Regions from separate parts of the Homo sapiens genome. Here region 1 is linked to region 2. Evidence: promoter capture Hi-C in human tissues and cell types (Jung and others, 2019). All regions are on one chromosome and are shown on one strand. The core of a region is centred on a gene start or on the middle of the fragment in contact, and the rest is flanking DNA. Distances in the headings are between cores, read along the strand shown. Region 1 overlaps EEFSEC (eukaryotic elongation factor, selenocysteine-tRNA specific). Region 2 holds the start of EEFSEC (eukaryotic elongation factor, selenocysteine-tRNA specific).

What was found. Contacts are between HindIII fragments. The study calls those that stand out against the background at their distance.
Region 1: a fragment that was not itself captured here is called in contact with the fragment with the promoter of EEFSEC in region 2 in 1 of the 25 tissues and cell types used here (lymphoblastoid cells).

The regions. Positions count from the first base shown.
Region 1 is chr3:128,383,006-128,389,890 of GRCh38, reverse strand. All of the region lies in intron 6 of EEFSEC (eukaryotic elongation factor, selenocysteine-tRNA specific), which reads right to left. Among named protein-coding and RNA genes, the nearest start is that of DNAJB8-AS1, 77 kb to the left of the region's middle. RefSeq lists enhancers at 254-841, 842-1,431 and a silencer at 4,191-4,485. The HindIII fragment of the contact is 3,717 bases long and covers 1-3,699 here.
Region 2 is chr3:128,150,073-128,157,320 of GRCh38, reverse strand. It overlaps EEFSEC (eukaryotic elongation factor, selenocysteine-tRNA specific), which reads right to left and starts at 3,840. Exons shown (of 7, transcript NM_021937.5): 1 at 3,498-3,840. The coding sequence starts at 3,813. It also overlaps a transcript of RUVBL1 not described here. RefSeq lists a silencer at 3,330-3,849 and an enhancer at 3,980-4,209. The HindIII fragment of the contact is 4,118 bases long and covers 110-4,227 here.

The DNA of each region.
Region 1 (6,885 bases), core at 592-3,091, 230 kb before region 2:
CTGGATCCACGTGGGCTAGGCTTGACCGGCTAGGTGCTCTCTCAAGCTAGTTAGTTCACATCTGGGGCCTGCCCTGCCCATTCTGCTGGAGCAGCCTCAGTCCACACCACATCACTCTGCTGGCAGATGAGGCTCTCGGCGTTAAGCCAAGGCCTCCCTTTCCCAAGGTCAAGCATGCCATGCTCCCTGTTGGGGTGGGTCCATGAAACAACCACGTCCAGTGAAAACCAAAAACCCTCCCGATCTTCCTGTAACTGGACTTGTTTATAAACCAGGCTTCCTGCAGCAAGGCGGCCAGCCTCACCCAGCAGCGTGGGCTCAAGGATGGTCAGGGGTTGTTCCCAAGTGCCCAAGGTGGGCCTCTTCCAGGGGGATAGCCAGAAACCTGGGCTCTAGGCCTGGGTTTACCACCAACCACTTGTGACTTAGGAGGCCATGTGGGCCCTCTGGGTGGAGTCCTCATATGGCAACCAAGGCTGAACAGAAAATCTGTCTGGGATGGCTGAGACGGTGCCAGGCAGGACCACTCTGTGTGGGGAAATGTGGACATCGGATGACCTCCTGTGTCCTGTTATGCCCGCCCATCCCCAACCAAAATGCCTGCCAGAGTGGTGGGCGGCCTGGCTTGTCTTCCTCCTCTGCAGGGCTGTGATGTCCTCGGGTGAGTGTCAGCACCCTTGCTGCTCCAGATGTCTGCGCTCCCTCCTTAGCTGGGTTAAGATGCCTCGCTGCAGCACCTCTGCCTGCCTGCCTCCCTCCAGCCTCCATCCCCATGGCTCCGGCCACAGGACACCGCAGGCTGCCTCGGCCCAGGGCACACCGGCTCCCTTGCCTGGAACTCCTGCCCTACAGACTGCCCTTCAGGTGGTGGCCCCAGCTGACTACCTCTTGTGGCTCCTGGGTCCCAGCACCACATGAGGCACAGGGACAGTCCAGGCAGTTCCTCAGGCTCCTGACCCAGAAATCAAGAGTGGGTGTCAGGTGGACTGAAGAGGCCCTGAAGAACCAACAGCAGACCTGCAGCTTGGGGACCCTCTACCTCTAGTCAGGAAGGCAAGACAGACAGCCCTCCTCCATTTCACGTCTTCTGGACTGAGTTTCAAAAAACACCCCTGCAAGGGCTCAGGGGCTAGAGGCAGCAGTTGGCCTCTCTGCTAGACGCTCTGGCCGGCACCACTGAAAGCACACAGTCGACCAGGAGAAGGCCTCGAAGAGGCAAAGGGATGAGGGGTACAGGCAGACTACACCAGGGAATGGGCCTTACACAGCAGTGGCCTCACTCAGCAAACTCAGGAGGCTCGGGCCAGGCCAGTCCCTCACTGGAGAGCAGTGGGTGCTGCAGTGGAGACACAGCCCACCTGGGCAGACATGTCACAGGCAGCCGGGGGCTCAGACCCCACCTAAACGGCAGTTACAGAGCGTGGACCCTGGCCAAGCCCGCTGCTGGTGGCTGCGGACTCATGGCAGGCAGATTGTTCCCTGTTCCCCACCCTGGAGGAGCTCGAAGGCAGAGATGGACTGTAGATAAATTGAGGGGTCCGAGAAGGGGTGTCAGGAAGCACTGGAGGGGGACTTGGCATGCAGGCAGCTAGAGGAGGTAGTGCTGGAGGCGAGTTAGTGGAGGCGGGGGCAAGAGGCTGCCAACAGGGCTGGACCCCTTCTGTGGCTGTCCCCAAGGAAGGCGACCAAATTGGATATTAAAAAAAGGAAGACTCTAAGAGCGGGAGCAATGGAAAGAGGAACAGAGCTCAGAGAAAGGACTTTTTTTCTCAAGTCGTGGTTCTGCCACTGCCAGTTCAGAGTGAGGACCTGGTGGGTGTAGGCTCTGGACAGGGCAACCCCAGGGGCTGGCTGGGCCACTAGGCCTCCTTCTCCTGGCACCCTAATGGCTGCACCTTACTTGAGCTTCCAGGTCTCTGCTCGTGGCACCCTCATGCCTAAATAGCCATCCAGTGCCTGCCCGTGCCCATCTAGAAAAGGCTGGCTGAGACCTACTTCCTCCAGGAAGTGCTCCATGCTGCCTGGGGCAGGCACATCAGGTGGGGGCTGCCAGGGCTCCAAACATGCAAGCGGGGCTCCATACACTCGCAGGGTTTGAGTGGGCCTCCATATGCGCGCAGGACTCCATAGGTGCACATTCCTTTCCCCAGCCCCAGTGGAGCCTGTAGGGAGGGGTCTTGGTGGTGCCACAGGGGCCAGCCCAGCCTGGCCCTGCCATCCAATGCTAAGCACACGTGACAAAGATCCTTCTTCGTGCCAGTCCATAGCCTCCTCTCCCATTCTGGGCTGAGCTGAGGAGAGGCCAGCAGCCGACTTAATTCAGGCTGGTATCTGTTCTCCCTGGGGTAGATTTCTCGCACCCTCAGAAGGCCCACCCGAGCCCCACTTCACGCATCAAAACTCTTCGACGCCCCCCAGACTTCCCAGATCTTTCTTGGCATCACGACTTTTGCGAGCCTGGACTCATGCACCTTTGTGTCTTGCCACACAGCACCTTCATTTCTGAACTTTGAAGAAGGTGTATACTTATCTTTCCTAAATAGTCAGAACTATTGAGAACTGCCAGGACATGTGGATATTTTTATGAAAGCAAAACTCAAGCATATGCTGGGCAGATGGGTCTGACCAGAAGGGACAGAACACTGCCTCTGTCCTCAGGAGCCACCTCCTGAGCCAAAGCCCCCCAGTCCATGGCTCCCATACCCCTGTGACCCCTGCAGCCCCTGCGGCCAGGTGCAGTACCAGTGGAGGAGCACAGGGCCGAGGAGGGTGGCTGGTGTTGCCAGCCCTGAGGGAGCTGCCCACGCGCCACCAGGCAAGTTGTCCATCCTCCTCACCTGGGCCCTGTGGTAATTCACAGAGCCAGGCCTATGAGGGGTGAGCACCTGGCAGCCCTGCCTGGGAGGAGGCTGCAGAGGCCAGCATATGATGTGGTTTGGATGTCTGTCCCCTCAAAATATCATGTTGAAATGTGACCCCCAGTGTTGGAGGTGGGCCTCGGGGGAGGTGTTAGATCATGGGCACGGATCCCTCATGAGTGGCTTGGTGCCCTCACCACAGTGATGAGTGAGTTCTCGCTCTGTGAGTCCATGTGAGAGCCGGTTGTTTAAAGGAGCCTGGCACCTCCTCCTCACTCTCTTGCTCCTTCTCTTGTCATGTGATGCACCTGCTCCCCCTTTGCCTTCCACAATGATTGTAAGCTTCCTGAGGTCTCACCAGAAGCAGATACGGGTGCCATACTTCCTGTACAGCCTTTTTAAAATTTTATTTTAAATAAATTATCCAGTCTCAGGTGTTCCTTTATAGCAATGCAGACTCACACAGCAGCCATGGGGCCTGGCTGTGCCACCATGAAGGCCTGGCCTCACTACCCTCAGCTGTGGTGTCACCTGTCACTGCATCCCCCCCCCACTGCCTGTCTCAGCTGATACCATATCCCACAGGGCTGGGGGCCCTGGGGAACTGGAGGGGATGTGCTCAGCATGGACAGAACACCCTGCTTTTCAAGAGAAACTGGAAATCTGGATTTTTTACATGAAAATTCCTGATTTTTGAGAACGTTTTCAGGGCATAGGTAGCCTGCAGCCTGCTAGGGTATGGCCCCAACTTGTAGGTCATTCTTTCTCTCCCTGGGGTAGATTTCATGCACCCTTGGAAGGCCCACCTGAACCCTACTTCACCCATCAAAACTCTCAAATCTCCCCCAGGACTTCCCAAATCTTTCTCAGCATCACTAGTTCTGCCATACCCATTGCCACCACTTCGACTATTTACTAAAGATTTCTTTAGTCAACTCATCTAACTCAATTAGAGAACATTCTATGCTGCCATAAGTGGAAATCCAGTCTCCCTTGACATAAATAGAGTACCTGTTAAAATCAACATGTAACTGTGAACATTCTTTGGGGGCTTATTTGTGGACTACCTAGAGTCATCCTGCACACGCCCAGGGTGGATGTGAGCAGCCCACTTGGGGAACTGCTGCTCATGTTCCACCGTGGGATGTTCCCTCCCTTAGAACCAGGCCTCCTTGGACTGTTCTGGGCTGACCTGCCTATCAGTGTCGTGCCCCAGGCCTCAGCCTCCTGCCTCTTGTTCCTCTGCCCAGATTCAGGCTAGGGAGCTGAGGGCTGCGGGCAGAGGGCCAGCCTCATGAGCCAGATCGTGAGTCCGGGTGAGGCCCTTGCACTCTCCAAGCTTAGCCAGTGAGTGGTGGAATGGAACTCATAAGTCAATGAGGTAACTCATATAAAACAGTCAGCACGTGCTGGGCATGTAGTAAATGTTAGTGTCCACTGTTGTTCTCATCGGGACTGGTGCATGGCAAGCTCACTGAGCTGTGTGTGGGAGGACACCCTGCAAGCCACAGCCGCACTCACAATCTGCTGCCTGTGGGTCAAAGTTGACCCTTAGGTATGTTTGCTTTGGCCTCTTCATGTGCTTTAAAAATTGTGGACTAGTTGTCAACATTTTAAAATGTGGGCCTGCATTCCCAGGGCAGCAGGTGGCTTGAGGTGAGCACAGGCTGCCCCTTCAGACAGGATGTATGGTCCCTGTACACCACACTCCCCGCTCCCCACTGCAGTCCCCCAGTCGGGCTACTCTCCTGCGCTGCCTGCCTGGCCCCTGTGGCCAGCTCTGAAACCTACAGGGTTGGGTCTTATCGTGGGTCTGAGCTATAGCAGCTGCTGGGACTGCTCTGGAGAGCCTGGAGGTGTCCAGACTGCATGCTACACCTTGGGGTGGCCTGGGGACTTTCTCTGGAGGAGGAGGGAGCTGGGCTAGGACAAGGTGCCTGGCAGCTATGCCTCTGCCACTCCTTGTCCTGGGCCAGGAAGCCTGACATCTATGGGGTTTGGTAAAATCATAATGGTAGGATGGTCTGCCTGTATTGGTCTTCCCCACATTCAAACAAAACCCAGTATGGACTTCCAGGGAGATAGCAGGGGGCAACTGGGGGGTCTGGGACCTGTCCCACCACTGCTGCTTTTGTGCGGGCAACCTGGGGACAGCCCTGCACCACTTTGGCCCTCAGTAATTTCCTCTGTGGAAGGGGGATAGATAATACCACCTCTCTTGGCAGACAGTGAGGAGGAGTCAGTGAGGAAACCCCTGTGCACTAGCCCAGCAAATGCTTGGGAAACAGCGGCTGAATGAAGTTAAAGCTCTGTTCCTCTGATGTGGTCCCTCAACGAGTTCTTGACCTTGGACGTGTTCCCTCTCCAGCCTCAGTTGCATTCCCTAGGGGCTCAGGGGTACAGCCACCTCAGGCCTTGTACCCTCCACTCCATCCCCAGCAACTGGCGTGCTTGTGCATGCGTGCATGTGGGAATGCTGGGAGAGACGGGTGCCCGCCTACAGGGCTTTGGTAAGGCCCCCACAAGCTGGCAATGCCACCTGTGTATGCTGGGTCCTGAGCACTTCACCCCCACACTCACTCTGCTCTGGTCTGCTCATCTCCATCCTGGGACACCCCATTCTGGCAGCTGGACCCCACAAATCACCTCTGAACCAGTCCACTCACAACATGGCCCATGAGGTCTTCTGGAGGCTCCATCAGGCTGCTGCAGGGGAAACCCCGACCTCTTCCAGCATTTAGGTATCTGGTTCCCTTGTGTAGTCCTCCACAGCCCAGCCACTCTGGGCAGCAGTGGTACCTTCTCTCCTGGGCAGAGCCACGGACGCTTCTGCCTGGAACACCTCTCCCCAGGCTGTCTCTCCACCCTCCTCCAAGATGGAACTCAGTACTGCCTCCTCTAAGAAGGCCTCCTTAGCTAGGCTCTGTGCCTGGGCTTCCTGGGGCTCACCACTTTCACAAAGATCAAAAAGAACTATATTAGCTTGGGAGTAGAATCTAGCCTCCATGGCATTTTTGAAATATTTGAACTACTAACTCACCTTTTAAATCAGGACATTTGACATACAGTTCTGAACTTCTAGTTTGTCTTGAAAAGCTAGAAGACTTCTCTTTGGATTCCTACCCTGCCACAGTGGGCTGGCGTGGGCCTGTGCTGGGCCCTGGGCACACCAGCTACTCTCTGTCACCGCTCATGTGCTGCTGCTTTTACCTGAGACTGGCTCCCCTCATTTCTGTCACCTGCCTGCCCCTTGAAGGCATCTGTATCTGAGTCTGAGCCCCTCCTGTCCCAGCCCTATGGCCCCAGCACCTCTGACTCAGGGCCTGGCACGAGGCCAGGAAGGGGGTGGTGCCTGCCAAGTGCTGGCTGATGCCTTCCAGGCCAGGGCACAGCCACCTTGCTCTCCTCCTCCAGGAAACCCAGTGTAACACACAGCCAGGAGCTCAGGCTCTATACCCAGACCACCAAGATCCCGACCCTAGTCCAGGCGCAGATCAGCTGCGTGCCTTCACAAAAGACATGTGACCTCTCTGCGCCTTAGTCTCCTCATCTGAAACATGGGAACAGGTTTGGTGTAAGGCCCAAGTGAGTTCATATAACAGAAAGTGCTTAGAACAGCGGCTGGCACAAAGCAAGGTCTAAAGAATGTTTACTATTTTTATTCCTTACCCAAATCACCCCACCCCATTCACTGAGCATACCTTCCCCATATTCACGGAGCACTTATTGTGCCCTGGGCCCTGTTCCAGGGGTGGGGGTCCAGCATGGTGTGAGTTATTTCTGTAACGGGGACAGGCTTGTAACCAATAGATGAATACAGGAGAAAGTTTCCGATAGTGCTAGATGCTAGGAAGGCAGTACAGCAAAGAGACAGCGGGATGGTGCTGGGTTTGGGGGTGTTCTTTTGGAAAGGGTATTCAGAGGGGCCCGAGGAGGCAGTGTGGGAAGTGGGGCCTCAGAGGCAATGAGATCTGAGGAACTGGGGGCAGGGATCCACTCAGGTCTTCCAGGAGGCAGGGAGGGGCTG
Region 2 (7,248 bases), core at 2,591-5,090:
TTGTTTCATCTTGTACATTTATGTTCTGGAGATGGCCTCTTTCCTCAAACCTCATGAACCAACTTCTGCTAGCTTCAAACTTTTCTTCTGCAGCTTCCTTACCTCTCTCAGCCTTCATAGAATTGAAGAGTTAGGGCCTTGCTCTGGATTAGGCTTCCACTTAAGGGAATGTGGTAGCTGGTTTGATTTTCTATCCAGACCACTAAAACTTTCTCTATAAAGCAATAAAGCTGTCTTGCTTTCTTATCATCTGTGTGTTCACTACAGTAGCACTTTTAATTTCCTTCAGGAACTTTTCCTTTGCGTCCAAAACTTTGCTGTTTGGTGTGGTGTAAGAGGCCTTGCTTTCAGCCTATCTCAGTCTTCAACATTGCCTTCATCACTAAGCTTAATCATTTCTAACTTTTGATTTAAAGTGAGAGACTTGCAACTCTTCCTTTCCCTTGAACGCATAAAGGCTATTAGCTGGATGAATTTTAATATTGTTGTGTCTCAGGGAATAGGGAGGCCTGAGGAGAGGGAGACAGACAGGGAAAAAGCCAGTAGGTAGAACAGTCAGAAAACACACAACATTTATTAAGTTTGCTGCCTTACATAAGCATTGTTTGTGACATTTCAAAATTACAATAGTAACATCAAAGATCACTGATCCCAGATCACCATTAACAGATGACATGTGTTTGAAATGAAGTGAAATGTTTGATGCTTAATATTTGATGAAAAGTTTGAAATATTGTTAAGAATAACCCAAATGTGGCATAGAGACACAAAGTAAGCAATGCTGTTGGATGGGTTGCCTTGAACCTTCGATTTGTAAAAACCACTATCTGCAAAGTACAATCAAGTGAAGCACAATAACATGAGGTATGCACGTATGTTGGAAGCGGATGAGGGAACTATAGGGTAACCTGGGGAAGCATGCAAAGGACTCCAGCTTTGGAGTCAGGCAGACCTGGACTGTTTCACTAACTACCTGCCTCCCTAAGTCCCAATTTTCTCAACTATTAAATGGTAACCACCACGCTCCTTGCAGGGTTTGCCTGGTAAGCAGCAAATACACAAGAAAAGTCAAGCCAATAAATAGTTGTGTGGTTACCACTATCTTCCAGTTGGAGCAAGGTCCAGAATTAGGTTCAAACGTCATACAGCTAAGGAAGAAAGCAAGCTAGGCTTCAAGCCCAGTTTTGTCTGACTCCAAAAGTATGTCCTTCACCACTCATCTACCCTATTTACTAGACAACACTAAAAACTCGCCATCTCATTTTTTAACCTCTGCCTTCCACCTCCAGTCTGGACTGGCTCAGAGTCCATGTTCTAAAATGTACTTTGATGTGACCAAACAGAATTCAGTTATAAGGGGGCAGGGAGGAATGGGTAGAGAATTGTGTGCCCCTTGAAATTCACCTGACTGAAACATGGATTGAGGAGAAGACTTTAGATAGTGTGACCCTGAGCAAGTCCCTTCACTTCTTCAAACTTCTATTTCCTCTACTGTAAAATGGGGAAATGATCTCAGACTGCCTGTAACATGAAACAGTTGGGAGGTAACAAAGATGAAGTACTGTACTTAACAAGCTCACCATTATAGCTGGGACCCAGAATGCCCAGTGACCAATGAGGCCATCTGCCACCAAGCCAATTATCATCTGCCCAATATATATTCCCATGTGTGGCATACAGAATATTGCTGGAAGGAAACACAAGAAAATGGGAACAGAAAGGTAATCAGGTACTGGGGTCAGCAGTGAGAAGTATACTTCTTTAGCTATATACCCTTTTATACCATGTGTTTATATTATTGTATCATTTTTTCTAAAAACAAAACATGTTTTAAAACTCTATCCATATATTTAAGTGGAGTTAAATGGGTCTGGAAAAGTAATCCACAAAGGTATAATAATGGTCTTTTCAGCCAGGCACAGTGGCTCACACCTGTAATCCCAGCACTTTGGGAGGCCGAGGCATGGGGATCACGAGGTCGAGATCAAGACCATCCTGGCCAATATGGTGAAACCCCATGTCTACTAAAAATATAAAAATTAGCCAGGTGTGGTGATGTGCACCTGTAGTCCCAGCTACTTGGGAGGCTGAGGCAGGAGAATCGCTTGAACCGGGGAGAAAGAGGTTGCAGTGAGCCAAGATTGCACCACTGCACTCCAGCCTGGTAACAGAGCGAGACTCCATCTCAGAAAAAAACAAAAAAACAAAAAAACAAAAAACGGGTCTTTTCATTTGCAGAGATAGGAGGGGTACAGAATTTAGGACAGAGGAGTGGGTAAGGGAATGTTTGTCTTATTTGTGATGTTCTATTTCTTCACAAGTAGCATGTATTCATGTATTACATGTATAATTAAAAATTAATGGTACCTCTTTGTGGGGCATTTTGGCAGTACCCACCACGACCGAAAACACACATGCCCCTTGCCCCAGCCAGTTATTATCTATTATCCTACATATATGCGAACATACCAAAGAGTTCTGTTCTAGAATATTCACTGCAAAATGGTTTGTAAATACTGGAAACAGCATAAACGTCCATCATTAAAAGATTTGTTCAGAAAATGTTGGTACAGGCCGGACGTGGTGGCTCACGCCTGTAATCCCAGGACTTTGGGAGGCCAGGGCGGGCGGGTCATGAAGTCAGGAGTTTGAGACCAGCCTGACCAACATGGTGAAACCCGTCTCTACTGAAAATACAAAAAAATTAGCCGGGCGTGGTGGCGCGCGCCTGTAATCCCAGCTACTCAGGAGACTGAGGCAGGACAATCGCTTGAACCCAGGAGGCGGAAGTTGCAGTGAGCCGAGATCGTGCCACTGCACTCCAGGCTGGGCGACAGAACAAGACTCTGTCTCAAAAAGAAAAAAAAAAAAAGAAAAAGAAAATGTTGGTACAAGGGTGCAGTTGAATTCTATGTGAGCTTTAAAAAGAATGATGTAGCTTTGTGTACAGATATGGGGCACTCTCCAGACACAATGTTGAGTGAAATCGTGTCTAAAAGGATGAGGGAAAGAGGGATTTATACATACACACAGATATGCTTGTATTGACGTGGAGCCTTTCTGAAATGATATACAAAAACTGGTAGCAGCGGTTGGCTCTAGGAACGGGAATCAGACCAAATGACAGGTGAATGAAGACAGCCTTTGTATGTATACCCTTTTTGTAGCTTGTGAGTTTTCTTATTTTGAGTTTTCTTTACTTGACCATGTATTATAAACACATTTGGTAGGGATTTTTTGATTTTTTTTTTTTTTTTTTTTTAAGGAAGGCGCCTTGCAGCTCGGTTCTGCTGGATGGGAAAAGCTGAATCTCAAAGCCTCCGCTCACTTGCTGCGGAGCCCTAGGCAAGTCACGTCCGCCTCTTGGGGCGTCAGGAGCCCCACCAATGAGGTGGGGCGATTTCCCGTCCCGGCAAAGGCTCGAGCGAATTCGGACACGGGGCCCGGTCGCTCCGCCCGCGTCCCTGAGCCCGGCTCCCGCCCCGGCCCGCGCTCACCGCCGATGATGGTCCGGATGAGGGAGGCGTGCCCGGGGCAGTCGACCAGCGTGACCTGAAGCAGTGGCTCGCCGGGCTCGGGCTCGGCCTCGGGCGCTGCCTGGAACTCGGGCAAAGACGACCGCAGGCGCGCGGGCAGCGGCACCGAGAAGCACGAGAAGCCCAGATCGAGCGTGATGCCGCGCTCGCGGCTCTGCGGCTGCTTGTCAAAGGCGGCGGTGGAGGCTGTGGTGCTTAGCGCCCGCGCCAGCGCCGTCTTGCCGCTGTCGATGTGGCCCAGCACGCCCACGTTCACGTTCACCCGCCGCCCTGCCATGCCGCCGCCGCCGCCTCGGACACCCGCCCGGCCCGCCCCTCACCTCCCTCGGTAGTCGCCGCGGTCCGGCCCGTTAAGTTGCCCCCCCGTAACCGGCGCGCTGTGCACACCCGTTCCGGCCCGGAAGCTTCCGCCCTCCTGAGGCTCACGGGCACAGCCGAGCGCCGTGCTCCGAGTGGGTGGTCTAGGAACTGGAGGTCACCGTAGGCAGGGTTTCTCTCTCACGTGGCTCCTCCTGCCTGAAGCCTCTAGGAGCCCGAGATGGAGGGATCCTTCTGAGAAGTGAAGCCATTTGGACTTTCTGGGTGAGTGGAGACTTGGAGAACTTTTCTATAGCTATCAAGAGGATTGTAAAATGCACCAATCAGCGCTCTGTAAAACGCACCAATCAGTGCTCTGTAACATGCACCAATCAGCAGGATCCTAAAAGAAGCCAATCACAGGGAGGATTGAAAAAAGGGCGCTCTGATAGGACAAAAACGGAACATGGGGGGGCGAAGGGGGGCGGGGGGGGCGGGGTGGGCGGGGGGAAGACGGGGGCGGGGGGGGCGGGAAGACGGGGGCGGGGGGGAGGGCGGGGGGACGGCGGGGGGCGGGGGAGGGCGGGGGGACGTGGGGGAGGGGGCAAATAAGGGAATAAAAGCTGGCCACCCCCGCCAGCAGCAGCAACCCTCTCAGGTGCCCTTTCGCATTGCAGAAGCTTTTTGCTCTTCACAATAAATCTTGCTGCTGCTCACTCTTTGGGACTGTGCCATCTTTAAGAGCTTTAACACTCACTGCGAAGGTCCGCGGCTCCATTCTTGAAGTCAGCGAGACTAGGAACCCACTGGAAGAAACCAACTCCGGACACACTTCCAATCATTCATACATTTCAGCAAGATCTTACCAAGTGCCTGGTGGGTTCCGCTGGGCTACAGTGCCCGCTAATATTACATTCAGGGGGTGAGGGCTAAGTCAAACAATACAGCCTGAACCAGACCATTTCAGAGAGCGAGAAGTCTCCTAGGGAAAATAAAAGCTGAGATAAAAAGGAGCAGGAGAGGGAGGATGGACAGCTACCTAACTGTGGGTCAGGGAAGACATCTAGGAGTTGCTGTTTGAGTTGAAACTCCAGTGTTGAGAAGGAGCCAACCATGGGAAAAGATGGTTTGAAGATGGAAGAGGACAACATTATCTCTGACTCAGAAATTCTCACCCTGAGAGTCTGTAGCCTGGGCTTAGGAGAGGCCACAAACCTCTAAATTGAACGCACAATGTGTTGTGATGTGCTCTTGCTAGACAGAGGGTCGACAACTCTCACTAGATTCTGAAGTGTCTAGAACCACAAAAAAGGTTGTCAGCCATAGTCACCAACCAGAGGTAACAAACCTAAGTGTCTGCTCTGGCCAGGTGGTGGGTAAATCAAAGAAGAGAAGTTAAAAGAGTCTAAGATGACAGGGAGTGGTGGGGACCTGGGAGACCTGGAGAGCCCTTTTCCTGTGCAAAGAGGGAAGCCACTGCTCAGTCTCAGCCAGTGATACCAGGCAGGAATGCTAGCCCAACATTGCCTCCTCCTTCCATTTTTCTGGAGAAGAGAGTGTTTTTGTAACACTGTGGCGGTGGAGCACAAAGTTCACAGGATCTTACCTTTGCCCTCTGTGATGAGCCAGACCATGTGCGGATGTATTCATGCTTGCAGTAACTGCCTCCTTCGTTCCACCACTCTCCACTAGGAACAGAGTCCATGTCATAGACTGAATTGTGTCCCTCTCAAATTCATATGTGGACACCCTGACCCCCAGTGTGATAGTATTTGGAGATGGGACGTTTGGGAGGTTAGATGAGATCATGAGAGCGGGCCCTTGTGATGGGATTAGGGTCCTTACAAGAAGAGAACAGAATCTTTGTTTCCGTTTTCCCACCTTGCAAATAGGAAACTGTAAAAATACGCCTCCCATTAAAAAAAATCTAGTAGTAAAAGCAGTAAACGTATTTAAAAGGGAGGGTTAGTAAATAGGTAATAAGAGCTTTAGAGGCTTTATGTACCTCTGAGAAATATTTCAACTAACAAAGACTTTGTACAGGGCCTGGCTTCAAATAAACCTCATTTCTTACCTCTGTTTTAAACAGAATCCTGAAATGGTAATGAAAAGAAAAAAGGTTTGGCTGGGCACGGTGGTTCATGCCTGTAATCCCAGCACTTTGGGAGGCTGAGGCAGGCAGATCACTTGATATAGTTTATATATCTATATATAGAATATATATAGATTTTATATATAGATATATAGAGTATATATATATAGAATATATACAGTGTATATATAGAATATATAGAGTATATATAGAATGTATATAGAGTATATATAGAATATATATAGAATATATAGAATATATATAGAATATATATAGAATATATACAGAATATATATAGAATATATAGATATATAGAGAATATATAGAGAACATATAATATATATAGAATATATAGAATATAGAATATATATTATATATATAATATATAATATAATATATATAATATATATAGAATATATAATATATAATATATAGAATATATAATATATATAATATATAGAATATATTATATATATAATATAGAATATTATATTATATATATAGAATATATATATAGAATATATATATATAATATATAATATATAGAATATATATAGAATATATAATATATAGAATATATAATATATAGAATATATAATATATAGAATATATATAGAATATATAATATATAGAATATATAGAGAATATATAATATAGAATATATATAGAATATATAATATATAGAATATATATAGAATATATAATATATAGAATATATATAGAATATATGTATAGAATATGTATAGAATATATGTATAGAATATATACATAGAATATATATTCTATTAGTTCTGTCAAATATATATATTCTGTGGAATATATATATGGAATATACATATATACATATGGAACATACATATATACATATGGATGTATATTCCATACAATGGAACATACATATATATATATATAATGGAATATATATACACATATATGGAATATATATACATATATGTATACATATTCCAAGATGGAAGAGGACAACATTATCTCTGACTCAGAAATTCTCACCCTGAGAGTCTGTAGCCTGGGCTTAGGAGATATATATATATTCCATGTATATTCCATTAGTTCTGTCCCTCTAGAGAATCCTGACTAATACAAATCTTCTAACAAATATTCTAACAAATATTGATTGAACACCTGCTGTGTGGCAGACATGATATTTTGGAGGGATACAACTGTGGATGAATAAGGCAAATAATGATGAAGTGCTTTGGGAGAAATAAGGCAGCATGGCTGAGAGTTACTGGTGCAAGGGAGGAGGATGCTTATTAAGGGAGAGGCATTTGAGCTGACAAAGATGCAAGAGAAGGGCCAGGC